Regions from separate parts of the Homo sapiens genome. Here region 1 is linked to region 2. Evidence: promoter capture Hi-C in 16 types of primary human blood cells and fetal thymus (Javierre and others, 2016). All regions are on one chromosome and are shown on one strand. The core of a region is centred on a gene start or on the middle of the fragment in contact, and the rest is flanking DNA. Distances in the headings are between cores, read along the strand shown.

Region 1 (2,817 bases), core at 18-2,517, 540 kb after region 2:
AAATGTCACTATGAAGTCTTTCCTGACTCCTCTAAAACGTTGAGTCAAGAAAAATATTGAAATATTGTTTACTCAGATATTTTATTATCCTATTTCTGAAAAGCTTTACCACCCTCAACCTAACTTCTGCTTTTCTTAAGATCTCTGGACAGCTTCCACATCTTCTTACTGACTCAGGGAAAATGAGCTGACTCAACAAAAAGGTGATGAGATTCTAGAAAGAGCTGGCTGGCTGGCTGGCTGGCTGGCCGGCCGGCTGCAAACCAGCCAGCAAGAAGTTTGCAATCTGTTAGCCTTTACGGGGTTAGTTCTCCTGCTCCCTTTAAAGGAGACTAAAAGAAGGAAAGTGGATGAGAAAGAAAAAAGTTTCTGAATTCTTTTACTGACATTGCTTCCAGTGAATTTGCCTTGTCACGTTCGTATTATTAATGATAGTCCTAAGGTATGTTATTCTTTGAAGTTTATGAAGTTGTTTATTTTCATCAGGGTAATTACTTGTGCTGCTTACCAAATGTTTCCAGCCCTCCCCCGTCGAGGCACATGATAGGATCTGACCTCCATGGCCTGGGCTAAGGCCATGTGCTGGTAGCTCTGGCCAATGAGTTGTAAGCAGAAGTGACACATGTCATTTCAGGCTGAAATTATCCAACAGTCTGTGCAATGCCAACAGAACTCTCTTTCCCTTTGCCATGGCAAATAGCCACTTTCAAGATGATTGATCACCTTAGGTCCTGGAGTGAGAAGATACGGCATGGAACCCTAGCCACCTTTTGTTGGACCCATAGCATAAGTGAGAAATAAACTTTTCTCCCAATATTTTATCGTGAAAAATGTTGAAATGTATAGAAAAGTTGAAAGACTTGCATAACACACATTCCCATATCTATCACCTGAATTTCACAGTTAACATTTTGGTATATTTGCTTTATCCCTTATCTGTCCTTTATGTTGTATCAATCTGCTTTTTTGGGGTGGAGAGATGAACAAGAAACTATTCTATAAACCATCACTAAGATTCTGGGGTTGTTCATTACTTCAGCATAACCTTGCCTTTCCTGATCCACATCTGGGGAATCCAGACCACCTACTCTCCTTTTCTGCTGAAGACAGTAAAGTAAAACTTCTCCAAAAAGAAAAAAGTAATGGTCTGAAGTTGGTTCTAAGAAATCATTTCCTGCCAGAGAAAGTTAGAAGTCACAATATGGATTAGGAGAAGGATTAAACCATCTTTTTTTCCTTCCATGGTCTTAAAAAATAAGATAAATTATGACTGACCTAGTTTTGATAAGGCTGTATTTGGAGGTAGAGAGATGAATTAAATGAGGAAAGGAAAGACAAAATTAGCATTCATTGACTATCTTTTGTATGGCAGACATTTTATATATATGATCTCATTTAATTTTCAAAATCATCCTGAAGAGTACATATGATTTCCATTTTTAAAATGAGGCTATTAAGCTCAGAGAGGTTAGGCTACCTGCCCAAGGTCATATAGCTATTGTGAGCAGAGGAGACAGAATGAAAATCCAAATCAGTATGACTTCAACACGCTTACCCTCATCTAGAAGTTTATAGACCCTTGGCCTCTGACAGCCAAGGGTATTTCCTCCCTCTGAAATGACCATCCCAAGGGAGACCGTGGCCCAAGAGGTAACAATGGTGTTAGTGGCAACCTCCCTTCATGCTTGAAGCAGAATTTGAAATGTCCAAATTATTTGACAAAAATATTTTTTGAATGTTCAGAAAAGTTCAACAAGCCCACTAAACAAAGGAGCATTGTGAATTTCCCAAAACTGAAACAGCTGATTTTTCCTTTACCTTTATCAGATAGTCACTTTCTTTGACAAAACATATATTTTAAAATACTAATGTTTTTTCCAACTCAAAACCCAGTTGGAATCTTGATCTTTTCCCAGTTTATTTTTTATGCTTGTGTTTGGTGTGAAGTAGATCTATATAATGTGTATATGAGTGTGTGTGTGTGTGTGTGTGTGTGTGTTCGTAAGGTCCTTAATTTCCCCAAATCTAGATGGTTACACTTTGAAATGTAACTCATATGGCCACACTGAGAGTCTATTTTCAGAATTTTCATGGCTACAAGCTAATGATTTTGGATTCCTATTGTTAGTCGAAAAATAATGGGTATGGTAGACATAACTTTAAATCATCAGGCTTCCACTCAGAGAGTTTATTGTGGGCTAGATAGCTACTGCTTGACAGGGTAGGAGGGGATAGCTAACCAAATTTGCCTGAAAAGACAACGTAAGTACCTATATAGGTAATGGGAATTTGTCCTCACCCTATAGAAACAATCTAACCCTGAATGACAAGTTTCTTCAAATAATTGAACACAGACTATCTTTAACTTTTCTATAGCATTTCACCTTTCCCTGGAGATTTTTATAAGATTAAAGCCTTAAAATAAAGCTTGGATACACTCAAAAAGGTAGCAGGAGGGAGCTTTCTGGGGCGATGGAACTGTTCTGTATCCTGATAGCGGCAGTGGTTGAATGAATCTATACATGTATTAAAACCCATATGGCTGTACACACACGTGCACATGCACACACATGCACACATACCTCTGGTGGACATCTGCTGCCTAAAGGTTCTGCCTTTCTTTCTTTTCTTTTCTTTTCTTTTCTTTTTTTTTTTTTTTTGAGACAGGGTCTTGCTCTGTAACAGCCCATGCTGGAGTGCAGTGGTGCGATGTTGGCTCACTGCAGCCTCAACCTCCCAGTCTCAAGTGATCCTCTCACCTCAGCCTCCCAAGTATTTGGGACCACAGGCGGCCACCACCACATCCAGCTAATTTTT
Region 2 (3,038 bases), core at 275-2,774:
CCAATCAACTATAAAATACATACTGAATTTCAAAAGTATTAGAATGAAAAAAAAATGTCTCTTAGAAATGGGATATGAACTGTGAGCCTGAGCAGATTACTTAACCTTTCTAAGTCTCGGTTTTCTCATCTGTAAAATGGGGATGATAGTAGCCGCTGCCTCATAGTTTTCTGTGAAAATTAATTAATACATTGCAGGTAAAGCAGAAAACACCATGCTTAGGGAATTGAAAGCACTCAATATTTGCATTTTTAAAAACTATGTCTTTAGTCAAGCATAACTCTTTTAAAATGCCATTAACTATAGGAGGAAGAATCAGTGTTGTAACATTTTGCTATTCCTTGAGTACAATCTATGTGTACTAAGAAAAGACATCATTGGTAACACAACTACCAAGCTTATCTAGGGATCAGCTATCTCAAGATAGGCATAGCAATTGCTGGATGCCATATGATTTCCATGTATTTTATTTCTCCAATAGCACTCACATTCTTTGGGAGCTGTATTCTAATACTTTCAGAAAAGCCATGGGAACACACCAGAGTGACTGCTCGAGTAAATAAGTAGCATAAACAGCAAGCCAAACCATTGATGTACACATCACTGGGCCCAATACTATGAAATCCCACATAAGAAACTTGAAAGTGAAAGCTGGAATTCTGAGGATACTGGTTTTGCTTAATAAACAGCATTTCAACAGGTGAGTCAACTTAGTATTGCAGAGCGTGGTGTTGGCTTTTTTCTGATTGGGGCTAGTTTTTCATTAAAGGCAATATCTAGCACTGAAATAGACAACAGTACCTAGTCCCAACCACCTGCTTCCTGGTGAGTCAGTTCAAGTTCTCACAATTGTGTCTGTGTCCAGCCCCAGACCAGCTGAGCTGGGTCATGTGCTCACCCAGATCTTTCCCTAAAAGAGGACTGACAGGGAAACCACTGCCCTCTTTCACATCCAGGGAAGGAGTGACTTCTAAGAGAAATAGGGTTTTGTTTCCTCGCCAAAGTGTCAGGAATGATCAAATGTGAAAAACAGAGGGCAAATCCGTGTTAGTGCGTCATTAGGTGGGTGTTTCTAAAGTGATCACATGGTAACACTTCCTCTGCTCGCTGACCCACCAGGAGTGTTTTGGAAACAGTCAGCCCACGTGAAATGGGCTGAAGACATCCCAGTGTCCTCCTCTCAGAAGCTGTGAGCCCCAGTCAGGGCGGGCTGTCTTAGCCTGTAAACGTCCACAGGGCCAGAGCCTATATTTAACTGATGACACATCTTACAAGGGGGAAGGGAAGGGGAATCTGTGACCCTGTTTCCTCCCACCAACACCAGCCCATTCACACAGAGTCTTTTGAAGGTCTCACTGGCAGTACTCCTTCAAACTTACCCAATATGCCCCACTCAAAGGCCCTCCCAGGCTTGTGGGAACAGAAAGATTTCTTGAAATGGAAAGGAGGGTTGTGAATGAGTGAGGAAATTCAGCATGGAGATATGAGAGGCTCACTCTTTAGCCACACGGAACCGGGGACTCCAAGGCAACCCCATTCCCAGAGTTCTTTCGAGGGTGGGGCTAATGACATGGGACCAAGAATTGACTCCAGGAAAGGGCATGGTGATGTGTGGCCTCCCAGACAGCCTCAGAGCAAGCAGGTGGATTTGACTTAGGCTGTGGGGAAGGCAACAGCCTCTGTATATTTTTCCATCTTGATGCTGAGTCAGACAAGGCAGTTAGTGGTTCTTTCCAGAATCCCTGCCAGCCTTTTAAAGAAAAAGTCTTTGCAGATTTTGCTTTAGTCCATCTCTGCCAAGGGGTCATTTTCTATGTTGTACTTCCTCCCTATGTGAGGGCAAGGATAATGTAGCCTTGTGTAGACTGTATATACGCTTCAGTTCCTAGCTAAGCCACATTGAGACCTCAGTAAAACAGGTTTGATTGCAATCAGAAAAGAGTTGATTTGAGATTTAAAGGAAATGACATGGATACAGTGCTCACCAGAAAGTATTAAAATGGTATTTGTTGCTTATTATTGGTAGTTATTGTCATGATATTGCTACTGATGCTGAACAAAGACCCAAGAACCAGGGTGATGTTTAGCATGGGCTGGCCTCAGCAGGACTGAAAGGACATCAATAAGGGAGAACAGAGAGAAGGAAGGAGGACAAGTGCCAACTTTGAGCAGGTATCAGGTGTATGTGGGGGCAAACCATTTCTCCGTCCACCCTGATGATGAGTCCCCGTTTCCCTTTTTAAGGCCTGATTTTTGCACCCTCACCCCACCTAAGGCAGCCAGGGGCCCACACTGCAATACTCCTAGGTAACATCCATACTTTTTTTTTTTTTTTGAGATAGAGTCTCCCACTGTCACCCAGGTTGGAGTGCAATGGCGAGATCTCGGCTCACTGCAACCTCCGCCTCTCAGGTTCACGTGATTCTCCTGCCTCAGCCTCCAGAGTAGCTGGGATTACAGGCGCACACCACCATACCCGGCTAATTTTTTGTATTTTTGGTAGAGACAGGGTTTCACTATGTTGGCCAGACTGGCGTCGAACTCCTGACCTCGTGATCTGCCCGCCTCGGCCTCCCAAAGTGCTGGGATTACAGGCGTGAGCCACTGTGCCTGGCCAACATCCATACTCTTGATCTGTTCCTCCACCCACAGCACTGCTTATCTGGCCAGGCTCTCGTTCCTTCATTACACAGCTTTCTGCTGGGAAGCAGATAACTAATATAAAGATGATACTAACGATTAATGGAGGCTTCATGGAGTCTCCCAGAAATATCACGTTTGTGGTTAATATTCCAAAGGCTACTGGTAGGGATTTCTCAATCTAACATGAGTCTGAAAAAGAGATGATTTTCATCAGAGCTATTCTCGGGACTCTTTAAATCAGGCCCTCAAGTGCTTATCTTCTTTGCCTATGTTTAGAGTCAATCCTTAAAGCAAGTAAACAGTGTCCCCATATATTTAGGAATTCTCAAAATCCTTGGATTTGTTCATACTAAGCTACTGTTATACTCATTTTTTAAAAAAATTTTGGGCTCACT

Evidence for each region. Contacts are between HindIII fragments. The CHiCAGO score rates a contact against its expected background, and 5 or more counts as called.
Region 1: a fragment that was not itself captured here is called in contact with the fragment with the promoter of LINC01888 in region 2 in 1 of 17 cell types (monocytes); the score reaches 7.9 in monocytes.

Annotation. Positions count from the first base shown.
Region 1 is chr2:68,285,500-68,288,316 of GRCh38, reverse strand. All of the region lies in intron 1 of PPP3R1-AS1 (PPP3R1 and CNRIP1 antisense RNA 1), which reads right to left. It also overlaps a transcript of CNRIP1 not described here. Among named protein-coding and RNA genes, the nearest start is that of CNRIP1, 33 kb to the left of the region's middle. The HindIII fragment of the contact is 2,324 bases long and covers 106-2,429 here.
Region 2 is chr2:68,830,494-68,833,531 of GRCh38, reverse strand. LINC01888 (long intergenic non-protein coding RNA 1888) reads right to left here and starts at 1,524. Exons shown (of 2, transcript NR_183895.1): 1 at 1,380-1,524. It overlaps LINC01890 (long intergenic non-protein coding RNA 1890), which reads left to right. Exons shown (of 4, transcript NR_183884.1): 2 at 482-700; 3 at 2,027-2,172. The HindIII fragment of the contact is 9,437 bases long and covers 400-3,038 here.